Regions from separate parts of the Homo sapiens genome. Here all the other regions are linked to region 2. The links are contacts of gene promoters, found by promoter capture Hi-C in blood cells and fetal thymus (Javierre and others, 2016). All regions are on one chromosome and are shown on one strand. Each heading gives the region's core, a stretch centred on a gene start or on the middle of the fragment in contact. The rest is flanking DNA. Distances are from core to core; before and after follow the strand shown.

What was found. The method cuts DNA at HindIII sites, captures the fragments that hold promoters and counts their contacts. A CHiCAGO score of 5 or more calls a contact.
Region 1: a contact is called between the fragment with the promoter of UBE2Z here and the fragment with the promoter of CDK5RAP3 in region 2, in 5 of 17 cell types (M0 macrophages, fetal thymus, non-activated CD4 T cells and 2 more). The highest score is 12.8, in M0 macrophages.
Region 3: a contact is called between the fragment with the promoter of TTLL6 here and the fragment with the promoter of CDK5RAP3 in region 2, in 5 of 17 cell types (total B cells, M0 macrophages, non-activated CD4 T cells and 2 more). The highest score is 6.1, in total B cells.

Annotation. Positions count from the first base shown.
Region 1 is chr17:48,907,113-48,911,365 of GRCh38, forward strand. UBE2Z (ubiquitin conjugating enzyme E2 Z) reads left to right here and starts at 1,295. Exons shown (of 7, transcript NM_023079.5): 1 at 1,295-1,708; 2 at 3,696-3,768. The coding sequence starts at 1,392. LOC105371814 (a long non-coding RNA gene) reads right to left here and starts at 1,871. Exons shown (of 4, transcript NR_135674.1): 1 at 1,827-1,871. RefSeq lists silencers at 1,434-1,683, 1,954-2,083 and enhancers at 2,957-3,006, 3,027-3,076. The HindIII fragment of the contact is 3,469 bases long and covers 723-4,191 here.
Region 2 is chr17:47,968,855-47,973,332 of GRCh38, forward strand. CDK5RAP3 (CDK5 regulatory subunit associated protein 3) reads left to right here and starts at 2,259. Exons shown (of 14, transcript NM_176096.3): 1 at 2,259-2,298; 2 at 2,508-2,553. The coding sequence starts at 2,293. RefSeq lists a silencer at 1,910-2,199 and an enhancer at 2,621-3,248. The HindIII fragment of the contact is 1,666 bases long and covers 1,600-3,265 here.
Region 3 is chr17:48,814,376-48,818,522 of GRCh38, forward strand. It overlaps TTLL6 (tubulin tyrosine ligase like 6), which reads right to left and starts at 2,854. Exons shown (of 16, transcript NM_001130918.3): 1 at 2,595-2,854. The coding sequence starts at 2,697. LOC105371813 (a long non-coding RNA gene) reads left to right here. Exons shown (of 4, transcript XR_001752926.1): 3 at 1,464-1,617; 4 at 2,054-2,583. RefSeq lists silencers at 2,560-2,609, 2,700-3,049. The HindIII fragment of the contact is 3,258 bases long and covers 1,192-4,147 here.

The DNA.
Region 1 (4,253 bases), core at 45-2,544, 940 kb after region 2:
CCACTGCAAGCTCCGCCTCCCGGGTTCACGCCATTCTCCTGCCTCAGCCTTCCGAGTAGCTGGGACTACAGGCGCCCGCCACCACGCCCGGCTAATTTTTTGTATTTTTAGTAGAGACGGGGTTTCACAGTGTTAGCCAGGATGGTCTTGATCTCCTGACCTAGTGATCCGCCCGCCTCAGCCTCCCAAAGTGCTGGGATTACAGGCATGAGCCACCGCGCCCGGCAAGGAAAAACAGTTTTTTAGGAAGGCCCCTGTCATTCTTAGTCCATAGGAATTTTTTTTTTTTTTTTTGAGACGGAGTCTGGCTCTGTCGCCCAGGCTGGAGTGCAGTGGCGTGATCTCAACTCACTGCAAACTCCGCCTCCCGGGTTCAAGTGATCCACCTGCCTAAGCCTCCTGAGTAGCTGGGACTACAGGTGCACGCCACCACGCCCGGCTAATTTTTGTATTTTTAATAGAGGCGGGGTTTCACCATGTTAGGCTGGTCTCGAACTCCTAACCTCGTGATTCGCCCACCTCGGCCTCCCAAAGTGCTGGGATTACAGGCGTGAGCCACCGAGCCTGGCAGATTATTTTTCACTTTAAACATTTTAGGAAAGACCCAAAGAATCCTCAGGGTTTACACTCACAGTACCTCGATTCCTGTATATTCCAAGATTTGTGGGAAGAAAAAGTACTAAGCTTGGAGTCAGGAGGCCTGATGTTTCTTCCTTTCACCAAGCTTCTCTAGTTCTGTTTCATTATCCCCATGGCAACAACTAGCAACAGTGACTGGCATTTAGTAGGCCCTTCATAAATATATGTTGAATAAACTCTAAAAGAGGTAGCTTTTCATTCCAAGTTGAGTTCTCTCTTGGTCCTGTTGCAGGCAAGGGCAATGGTACCCTGCCCTAGGTGCACAAGTGTGCAGGAGGGATCAATCGCAGAGCCTTTCCGAGAGAAGGGGCCCAAAGCGAGTCAACTTCTCTACTGAGCTTCCCATGAGGATGCTGGATCCCCAATCCTAACCATGCAGACGTCTGAGGGTCGCCGCCATTAACGGGAATGATATGGCCCTTCCTCCCCCACTCCCTCCTCTCTTCTCCCCTTTCAACACTTGAATTGGGCTCTCCGCTACTTCCGCACAGCGCAGGACCCACACGAGCCCAGAACCATCACGGCCTGCTAGTTCCCACCCCTCCCGTCCTGGAGGACCGTAGGTGGACGCTCTTGCAGAGCGCCTCTCGCTGGTTGGGGCGGGGGTGGGCGGAGCCAGCACCGTCTGGGCTGTGGAAGCGGAGGGGGTGGGGACACTCTGGCCCGGTTCTCGGTGGTGCGGGAGCGGGCGGGAGCAGCGGCCGCTCTGGTCGGCGGACGTGCTGCCGAGTAGTCCCGGAAGCGAAGCAGCGATGGCGGAGAGTCCGACTGAGGAGGCGGCAACGGCGGGCGCCGGGGCGGCGGGCCCCGGGGCGAGCAGCGTTGCTGGTGTTGTTGGCGTTAGCGGCAGCGGCGGCGGGTTCGGGCCGCCTTTCCTGCCGGATGTGTGGGCGGCGGCGGCGGCAGCGGGCGGGGCCGGGGGCCCGGGGAGCGGCCTGGCTCCGCTGCCCGGGCTCCCGCCCTCAGCCGCTGCCCACGGGGCCGCGCTGCTTAGCCACTGGGACCCCACGCTCAGCTCCGACTGGGACGGCGAGCGCACCGCGCCGCAGTGTCTACTCCGGATCAAGCGGTGAGCCGGGGTTTTTCCTCCCCCAGCCCCGAGCTCCGGGGCTCGACCTTCCCCGCCCCCCACCCTCTCCCACTACAACTCACCCCCCACCCACTGCGCTGCCCTCGCGGCGGCCCACCTCCACGGCCCAAATCTTGCCAGCTCCGGGCGTCGGGATCCAACTCCCTTCTCCCCCCACCCTCAGACCCGCAAGCACCAACCCCCGCCTCGTGTGCCCAGATCCGACCCCGCCCCTCGACAACCTCCCGTGAGCCCTCCGTCTCCATTCCGGCCACCCTCCCCCACACCTCCCACCTCCGGGTGGAAACCCGACCCTTTAGCGCTTCAGTAACGCCCCCTCCCGCCTTCGGCGCCGCCCCTATTTCCCCTTCCCCACCCCAACCTTGCTAGATGCTGCCCGCAGGCCCCACCCATCGGTCCCCTCTCTTCTCCTCTGGAGCCCCGTTCCTAACACAGACGAACTCAGCTTCCTTTGCCATGCCTCTGACTCGAGCCAACCTTTCTTTTTATCCTCCGTTTTTCTCAGATTCCCTCCACACAGTCTTTTCCCAGGTCTAGATCGCTTCCCTCGCCCCAATCTTTCCTTGAACCCCTTTTCCAGTGTCCCAAAGCTGTCCACTCTTACGCCTCTTCCAGAAACACAGGCTACCTCCCCCCAATTCCCCAGTGCCACTCTGGATTGTAATATCCCACTCAGGAGCTTCTTTCTTGTAATTTCCCTCCCCCCACCCCCCACCCTCCCCGGGTCGTCTGTTTTACTTCTATGAAGCAAATATACTCATCAAATATAGGAACAAAGGCCTAAGTCCTTTCTGTGCTTATTTCTTGGGTGACTGATCTTAGATCCTATCATTTAGTAGATGATGTTTTCCAGAAGCACATAGAATAGTACCTATCGCATAAGAAAAGGGCAGTGCTCTTTAGCTATTAATCCTGAAACCTGTTTGACTTCTCCCCATGCCCCCATCACAAGCATCTTCGTTTAGTTCTTATTCCCCATGTTCCACGTCCTTTCAGATGTCTCTGTGTCTACTTTTCAAGGTTGTAATAAAAATTAATATAATGTGTGTAAAGTACCTGGCACAGTGCCTGACACAGGAGGTCAACTGTGGAGGGATTGCCACCTCTAACTGAAACTCAGCACTCAACTCTTTTCCTCCTCCAGCCATTTCAGTCATCCAATTCTGACATACCTTTGAGTTTGGCCAATGCTTTCCTCTGCTTTGTCGCCTATTTGCCCTTTTTATGTCCCTACCCACCCTAGCAAGTCCCTAGGCTTTTCGCCACCTAGAATGTTCTTTAGCCCCTTGCTCTCAACTGATCCATTCCAGTTGGTGAGATATGAGTCAGAAATCTTATCTCCTATGGAAGTCCACATGTCATCTTCCAGATGGGAGATTCTTAGCAATTTCTGAGGATCCCTCCCCAGCCTGAAGAGATCTCTACCCTGAGACACCCCTGGGCAAGAAGGCCACCATGATAGTCTTACTCTCTGCTGGCTGGCTTGCTTCATACAATCCCCTTACCAATAAAGGTCCACTGTATAGTTTATAGAATTAGTTTTTTAGTGGAGTTGATGATGCCTTTCCAGTTACTAAAAAATCTTCATTTAGCATTCAGTCGTAGTACCTGGGAATCATGGAGGTGGGGAGTGAATGAATTGCCATGTGGGAGGAAGTGAGAGTAAGTGGAAAGTGGCTTTTCCAGGCTGACATTTGATGCCATTGGGATCTCTGATTTTTTTCCTCTCTCCCTCCCCTCCCCCTGAGGAAACAATGCCCTTTTGATAATAATTTGCTCTCTGCCTGCCTGACAAGTACTCAGCTGAGATTTCTCAGCCAACAAGACAGTACAAACACTTGCGGTACCAAGCACCACTTTCTCAAACCCTGGCCTCATTGAGGTGATAACAACTGTCCTGCTCAAGGGATTCCCCCTTTCCCCCTCTTCCTCACTCCTTCCCCCACCTCCTCTTGGTGTTATACAGGGATATCATGTCCATTTATAAGGAGCCTCCTCCAGGAATGTTCGTTGTACCTGATACTGTTGACATGACTAAGGTATGTAACTTGATGGGGGTTTGGGGGGTTTTGGGAAATTGGGGGCCATAAGGTTGCAAAAGCCTAAAAGAGATTATTCAGCTCACCTCTCCGATTACACAGATGAAGAAATCAAGACCCCAGGAGAGTAAGTGGCTTGTCCAAGGTCACATAGTGAGGTGGAGCAGCACTTTGAAGAGGTGTCTGTTATTAGTGTACCCCATAGGTACTGATTGGCTTGGAAAATCCCAGTTCATGTCTGTTGTCGCAGCTTGACTATTTATAGGGCATTCTTTCACTCTCAAAAATGCTCCTGTTTGGATAATAAATTATATGGTCACCCTATCCATTGTACTACCCAGCTCTTCCCCCATCCCGTTACTCTTGACATTAACTATGCTATGGTACTATAAATCAGATGTAGGGAAGGTTGGGAATAGGGCAAGCTTGACTGAAGTGTTTGTGGTTAAAGGACTTTGCTCAGGATCCTGTCCTTACTGGTTGCG
Region 2 (4,478 bases), core at 1,009-3,508:
GATCAGGCTGGTCTCGAATTCCTGACCTTAGGTGATCCGCCTGTCTCAGCCTCCCAAAAGTGCTGGGATTACAGGCGTGAGCCACCGCGCCTGGCCCATATATGATATTTCATATAGGGAGAGTTTACAAAGCATGAGAAATACAGCCACAGTATGTTGTAAACTGTCATGAGTTACTAGTGTGTTTATTTAAGCCTCTAAACAGAAATACCCTGAGATAGGATAGCTGTTATCTCCATGTGGGGAAACTGTGGCTATCAGATAGGTTATAGAAATGGTCCAAGACCTCACTGGGCAGAATCTAGGTCTTCCTGCTGCTGTATCACACTATGCATTTCAATCAAAAATTTACTAAGCCTCAAGTGTTGTGCTGTGGTGAACAGGAGCTGGGGAAGGAATATTTAGAAATGGCATACCCAGGGCCGGGCGCGGTGGCTCACGCCTGTAATCCCAGCACTTTAGGAGGCTGAAGCGGGAGAATCACGAGGTCAGGAAATCGAGACCATCCTGGCTAACACGGTGAGACCTCGTCTCTACTAAAAATACAAAAAAATTAGCCGGGCGTGGTGGCGGGCGCCTGTAGTCCCAGCTACTGGGGAGGCTGAGGCAGGAGAATGGCGTGAACCCAGGAGGCAGAGCTTGCAGTGAGCCGAGATCGTGTCACTGCACTCCAGCCCGGGCGACAGAGCGTGACTCCGTCTCAAAAAAAAAAAAAAAAAAAAAAAAAAAAGAAAAGGCATACCCAGCGCTGTGAGATCCTGGGGGATCTGGCCTCAGCCTACCCTCCCTCCTTACTCTACCCACTTCTTGGCCAATCTCAGACTCTCCCTTAGCTTCAGCCACCACTCGGACCACAGATTAGCCAGCTTGTGACTCTCCAAGCTGTATCTCCAGCCCCGACAACTCCCTCGAACTCCAAAATTATAGACCCAAGTGCCTTCTGCACACTTTCCATCTGGGGGTCTCCCAGCATTGCCAGACTAGGTTCAAAGCTAGACCCCCTCCTCCCCAACACCTGCTCAGCATCCTGCATCCCTGTCTCAGGTGGTGGTTCCCACCTAATCACCTAGGTGTCATCCTTAGTGTCTCTCTCCTCCACCCAAACAGCCAATCAATTGCCAAGTCCTATACATTTTCCTCCTAAATATTCCTCAGATCCAGCCCTTCCCCTTCCTCCTCATATCTTGTGTCCCAGCTCAGGCTATAATCCCTCGATAACAACCTCCTTCCAGCCTCCTTGTCCCCAGTCTTATCTCCCATGCATCCATCATCCCAGCAGCCTATCTGTACAGGTTCCTCCCTGCCTCAAACCCCTTCTGTGATTCCTCTGTCTGAAGGGATGAAGTCCAAGTTCCTTAATAAGTCTCCCTTTGATATGGCCTTTCCACCCTTACAGCCTCTCCTCTAGCCACTCGCTGCCTCAAACCATCTACGGTATAGAGGTTGGCCTGCCCGCGGAGCCGACTTCATCTTGAAATTCTTCATCATTTTGTAACAAGCAGCTGTGCATTTCCATTTTGCACTGGACCTCACAAATTACGTTGCCCGTCCTGCCTGCCTGTTGTTGCTTGCACCCCTCTTGCAGTTTGTGGCCACCTAAGCTTTGTCTGTGTAGTCTCCTCCACCTAAAACTCCTCTTCCCACATCACCCAGCTATCTTCAGCTCTTCGTTTAGACTCAATGTAGGTGTTCTCTTTGGGACGTCTCACCGACTCTCTTCCTTCCCCTTCCCTGCCCTAATCGCCCAACACGTTGCAGGTGCTCAACCATGTCTATTAGAGAAACTGAATGAGGAGGCAAAGCATGACAAGTGCCACAAGAGACCTGCACACTGCTCTGGATGGTAAAGCGACGCAAGGAGGGAAGAAGGTATTTGCAACGGCCTCCCAGATCGGCGCTAGGACCCCGCCAGCAGACGTCTCAATCTGCGTGGAGAAGACCCAGTGCCCGCCAGGGGAAGCGGCTGCCAGGCTGGGCTCTCGAGCGCCGCCTGTCGCAATCCCACGGCCGCTGCAGCGCACCCCCTCCCGTCCCCTGCCCTGAGCCCGCCTCGCGTCTCCAATTGGCTGTCTCCATTCTCCCGCCCCTCCCGAGCTCAGCCATTCGGAGCCTGGGGTGGGCGGGGCTTGAGGCCTGAGTGGAGCGTAAACCCTGATTGGCTGTACGGAAGGCGGCGACGTGGCCGAAGGATGCCCGTTTGTGTCTAAACGGAGGCTCGGCCACAACGCCACTGGATTGGTGGTAGGGCGGGGCGGGCCACAGTCTCCAGCCTGAAGCGGAAGTGGAGGAAAGATGGAGGTGTGGGGACAGGAGCTGGGTGTGCTGGGGACTGGCCGCGGACCCCTAACCTGTGTCTCCGGTCTCCCTCCGGAAGCGGCTCAACCCAGCCCATCGCTCTGGCCCCGTTCTGGCCCTGCAGGGTGGTGGTTGGGACGTTGAAATGAGCGCGCGAGTGGTACGTCCTCTCTCCGCGCTCACGCCCCCCTCCTCACCGTGTTTCCCGCCAGGACCATCAGCACGTGCCCATCGACATCCAGACCAGCAAGCTGCTCGGTAGGAGGGGGCGCCACCGCGCAGCTGGCTGTCGGGGGGAGGCCTGTGCGTTGCCCCCTGTGTCCAATAGCCGGGAGCTCTGACCCCTGAAAGCCTGAGTCGAGATGCTGACCACTGGCCTCGTTCTATGCCCCATCTGTGGCCAGACCTGCTTCCCTGATAGCAGCGGGAACGAACCATATGTACAGTCTGTTTGACCTGCGTTTTCTCCTTTAATAACATATGTTATCGTATCATTCAGGGACAGGATAAATGACTCGCTTTAAAAACAGTCAACCACTGCCGGGCGCGGTGGCTCATGCCTGTAATCCCAGCACTTTGGGAGGCCGAGGTGGGCGAATCACCTGAGGTCAGGAGTTCGAGACCAGCCTGACCAACATGGAGAAACCTTGTCTCCATGTCTCCATGACTAAAAATACAAAAAAATAAAAATAAAAAGTAGCCGGGCATGGGAGCACATGCCTGTAATCCCAGCTACTCGGGAGGCTGAGGTGGGAGAATTGCTTGAACCCCGGAGGCAGAGGTTGCGGTGAGCAGAGATCTCACTATTGCACTCCAGCCTGGGCAACGAGAGCGAAACTCCATCTCAAAAAGAAGACAAAAAACAGTCAACCACTAAGTGGCACATCTGAATTGGAACTTAAGTCTGTCTGACCCACTGTCCATGCCTTTTGCATTATGCCAGGAAAAAAAAAAAAAACCTCATTTAAAAAGCTTCCACCTCCCCCTTGATTTTAGGAGGAAGAGGGACCTAAGACCCAGTTGCAAATGAAAACCTTTTAGTGTCCAGGCCATCTCCAGGTTGTCTGTATGGGGCTTACATACTTCCTCCCCAGTTCATAGTCAGGGAAGGCCTCTTCATCTGATCACACAGCTCCTGGCATTTTAAAATGCTTATTGGATTCATGGATTTGATGCCAATCTTGTCCTTAAGATGGTGTCTGTTTGACTACCCCAGTCCGTTGCTTCTAGTTCTGTGACATCAACAGAATTTTTCTTTCTGAAAACTTTACAGGAATATAGCAGAGAGAGTATAACTGATACTAGTGTGGGACCCCAGCGTTTGACCGGTTGGCAGAGTTCAAGTTCTGAATTCACCACTCTGTAGTGCCATTTAGTCAGTCCTGCTTGGTGGTCACGGGGGAAGCTTCTTTAGCCTCCCTTCAGATTTGTACTGGCCCTTCAGCCCATGTGCAGTCTTGGTGTGTGAGCTTGTTCTTGGTCATGAAAAGGACCAATAAAATGACCACCATTCATTGAGGGTTTTTTTTTGTACCAGGTGCTGTTTTAGGCACTTGACATGATAAAAATGATCACTGTCATTTTTTGAGTCCTTGCCGTGTCTCAGGCACACTGTTCAGTGTTTTACCTGCATTCCCTTTTCTAGTCAGTGTCTTATTATTCCCCATTTTACATGTGGGAAAACTGAGGCACAGAATAGTAGACTTGCTCAAGAAACTTGATAACGAGAACCCAGGACCATCTGACCACAAAGCTCAGCTCTTAGCTCTCACTGAGGAAATATGCATGGCTCTGAAGCCACAAATCTGGGCCCAGACTTTGAGAGGTCAGTCCCATTGGTATTCACATGTACAGGGTGGTACTTCACTGTTCACAACAGAGTCATGTTATCTAGTCCTTAGGGCGCTGTAGGTATTAGGGGCTTTGCAGCTGTTCATTCATCCAGTACTTGGCATAACCATCTTGTATTTTCCATTGTCATGGTTAACCCCAGCCCTGAGGAAATGGAAGTTGAGCAGCATCCTCTTGTCAGGAAGAAAGATATAATTACCCATAGAAGCAAAAATATTATGGGGAATTGAGAATGGTCAAAAGTGGCACTTTCAGGACCAATTTAAACTTTTTGTTATCCCTGTGTTGAGGCAATTGCTCTATAAAAATCACACTGCTAATGAAGTCAGATT
Region 3 (4,147 bases), core at 1,604-4,103, 850 kb after region 2:
GTAAATAGCAAAATAGCATCTTCAGTTTTTCTTAATGACACAAGAAAGAGCATTGTGTCATTAAGGAAGGGTATTAGTCCACCTTTCCAAGTAGGATATAGTTAAGACACTGAAAAAATTCTCATGTTTCCTTCCATTTTAGTATAGGGTTTGATCTTGAGATCTTCCAAGCCAGAGGCTGTCAACAAGATCCTGGTTAGACAGCACGAAAATGTCCTACATTGGCCACCAGGGGGAGGGAATGAGCACTGGGACGGGTCCACTGGGACGGGTCCATTGCGGGTTATTTGGAAAAAACTCAGAGGAGGGTCCCTGTCTTATTTCCACTTCTGAAGGACTATACCTGTTGACTACTCTCCTCTTCCCTGGAGGTGTTGCAGAGGGTGGAAAATGTTTAGTGCTTTCTTTTATCTTTCTTTCTTTCTTTCAAACTCCAGCCTGTTGCCCAGGCTGGAGTGCAATGGCACGATCTCAGCTCACCGCAACCTCTGCCTCCTGGATTCAAGTGATTCTCCCGCCTTAGCTTCCCGGGAGCTGGGACTACAGGCATGCACCACCACGCCTGGCTAATTTTGTATTTTTAGTAGAGATGGGGTTTCTCCATGTTGGTCAGGCTGGTCTCAAACTCCCAACCTCAGGTTATCAGCCCACCTCAGCCTCCCAAAGTGCTGGGATTACAAGCATGAGCCACCGCGCCCAGCAGTTTAGTGATTTCTTTTGCAAAACTGAATGAACACGGGCATCCTATAAATGATAGAAAACAATAATTTGGTGGTTGACTAAGAGAACCCTGGGAGAACATATTTCAAGTTGTAGCCAAGTTTTTTCATCTCTGACCTTCATCACCTGGACTTTTTTTCTAGTCTATAGGAATATATAGAGCACTGAAAGTTTCGCCTATTGTGTCTGTCTGTGAAGTCCCTCTCTTTCACCAGATAATAGGTTTTCCTTCACGTACCTCCTTTTCATCTTTTGGTCCTCATTTCCCTACTGGAAGCATCCCTCTGAAGGCCTCCAGTGGTTCTTGGAAAATGTCAAATTGGATGGGGGAAGAAAAGATGTGGAGGTAAGACCTCTGGATCTTGCTTTCAGCTTTGCCCCTCCAACTCAGTATGTCATAAAAATCCAAGCAATTATTTCCTCTCCCACTCCCTATCTTCTCTATAATTACAGGACCACTAGGAGGATAAAAGCTTCACATCTAGAAAAGTGCTTTGAGCTTTGATTCAGACAGGATAAAATAAGATGTTTTTTGTGGTCTTTTGACTTTTCGTTTTAGTCACACTTTGAATTTCAGCCCGGGGCCTGAAAGGGTCCTAAGCAAAATGTGAACTAACAAGGGAGGGATGGGGCACCCAATTGCTCAAGGGCTTTGCCAATAAGAAGTGTTGAGAATGACAAGTCACCTGTAGTGGGAACAATAAGAATCTTGCTGACTTAGATGCCATCTTTTATTCTTCTAGAAACTGAGAAATTCTGCAAGATTGGAAGATGCAATATTCAGATCAGGCTCATGCCTAGTCATTTTCTCCACAATATTCAGGGCATTGCTAACAAAGACAGATGGATCTGGATCCAAATCCCAGCTCTACTAGTTTCTAGAATGTGTGACCATGGGTGAGTAACTTAGCCTCTCTGTACCTCAGCTTCTGTATAAGTAAAATGGGGATGATAATAATATTCATTTTATGGAGCTGTTTTAAAGATTAAATGAGTTAATATTTCTAATACCCTTAAAGCAGTGCTTGGTTCAAAATAAAGGCTATATTGTAAAATGAAAATATAAACCAGGCGTGGTGACTCATGCCTGTAATTCCAGCACTTTGGGAAGCCCAAGTGGGAGGATCACTTGAGCTCAGGAGTTCGAGACCAGCCTGGGCAAAAAAGTGAGCCCCCCCACCCCCACCTCCATCTCTTAAAACAAACAAAAAAGAAAATATAATAATAAGATTGGCATAAATATTAAATTTTTTTGGAGTGCCTCGCACATACTGGTGCTTTCAAAACGTTAGCTCCCTTCCCACTTCATCCCCCAATGTGATATTTTTCCTAGAGTTCAAATCCCAAAGGAGAACTTTCTGCAAAGCCAGAAGAGTATTTTTTCAGGAGGGGTGAGAAATAACAACTGGAAATGAAAGAACACCAGGCTGGAAGGCGGTAGGGGCATCAGCAGAGGACTATGCCGGCCATGAAAAATGGGAAGTGTCTTGCTGGAAGGTTTCTCCAGACAAAGGAAGAACAGTGATGAAGAAAATGACCCAATGATGGGGATGAAGGGGATGAAGAGAGTTGTGTGAGTCCCAGGGATCGCTGGTGTCTAAGCGACAGCTCCTTGGTGGACTGTGGTTTAGGAAATCGGGGGAGGGCGGGAAATGAACGTTAATAAGAGGGACTGAGAAGGGGGGAGTCCCGGAGCCGAGGGACCGTGAGGGTGAGTGCCTGGCGCCATGGAACGCCACCAGGGAGGGCAGCGGGCTACCCTGGGGACCTGGGTCCCGTGTGGGTTTAAGGAGACGTGTCTAGCCAGGTTTTCAGGGGACAGGCACCAGGAGGCTGCGGTCTGGAGCCAGCACCGGGCTTTGGGGCGCTCTTACCCGCAATTCCTACTCCCCCGTCTCGCCCCGCTGGGCTGCTAGTCCAGCTTGCAACCACACCTGCCGGCCCCCTCCTCGAAGGATGAAGGAGTAACGCTCCCATTGGCTGCCAGACAGCCCCAACCCCAACCCGCGCTCGCCCTAACTTTGGGTCCGCCCGGCCCTCATATTTGCATACGGGGCCTTCTAGGCCTTCGATTGGCCCCTGCAGTAGCTGCCATGCCCCCTCCCTCCCGAATCCAATTAACCGCCCAGGCGCTAGGGGAGGGGCGCGCCCACGGTTGTCCCGGGAGACGCGGAGGACGCGCGCACCGCGCACCCGGGCGCCAGGGGCTGGACCGCCGCTCGCTCCCGCAGCCCTACCCTTGCCCAGCGAGCCAAGCCGCAGTCCCAGCCCATCCGCGCCGGTGCCGTCGGGCGCCGTGCGCGGGCGCGGCCAGAACGTCTGGCTCCAGAGGTCCAGCTGCGCGGGGCTGCGGTGAGGGAGGGGGGCACCTTGAATTTAGGCCTTCGGGAGAGGGCAAACCTGAAGCAGGAGGCACTGTGGGAAAACACTGGTTGGAGACTTAAATCAGCATCTCAGGCATATTAGTGCCTGTGTCACCTTGGGCAGGCCACGTTACCTCTGTGAGGCTTAGCTTCTTCAACAGGAAAATGGGTGTTGCAAACCTGTGATGACCGCTCAGGCGTATTGAACCCTGACCTCACCTCCAGAGTGTGGGGGTCATGGCCTCCAGTGAACTGATCAGTAAGAGAGGGCCGCCTAGACCGACTGAAGAGTCAGTGAGACTTAAGGGGTTAGGGGTCTGGGCTTCTCAGAGCAACCATTTGGTCTCAGGTGGAGAATCTGTAGTAGTGACTGGATTCAAATCATTGAAGATGGTCGGGCGCGGTGGCTCACGCCTGTAATCCCAGCACTTTGGGAGGCCTAGGTGGGTGGATCGCTTGAGCTCAGAAGTTCAACACCAGCTGGACAACATGGCGAAACCTCCTCTCTACTAAAAATACAAAAATTAACCGAGCGCGGTGCGCGTACCTGTGGTCCCAGCTATCGGGAGGCTGAGGCGGGAGGATCGCTTGAACACAGGAGGCAGAGGTTGCATTAAGCTGAGATCGCGCCACTGCACTCCAGCCTGGGCAACAGAGGGAAACTCTGTCTCAAATAAATAAATAAACATTGTTCATTTGGGCCTGAGTTGGTAACCTAAGTTCCTCCCAACCCAGATCCCCTTCACCTGCTGATGTGCACAGGCAGAACACCAGAGGCAAGGGTGTAGCTTAGCCTCAAGCCGACCCTGGAAGCCTACTACGTGGTGCTTACAGTCACCCCGGAGTGAACAGAAGGCCCAAAGTGGAACCAGTGGCCCATCTGCTGCTCTTTCAGAAACCTCTCTGCCATCCAGTCAGCACTCTTCCCTTTTCCCCCCGCAGGTGGCCCCGTGCTGTGGTGCCCCTCCCCGACAGGCCCTAAGGGGCCAAGTGACCATCATTAACTGGTCACCCAGCAGATGCTTCCCTAAGACCAACTGTCCCAGCCTGGTCCCCTCCCCCAT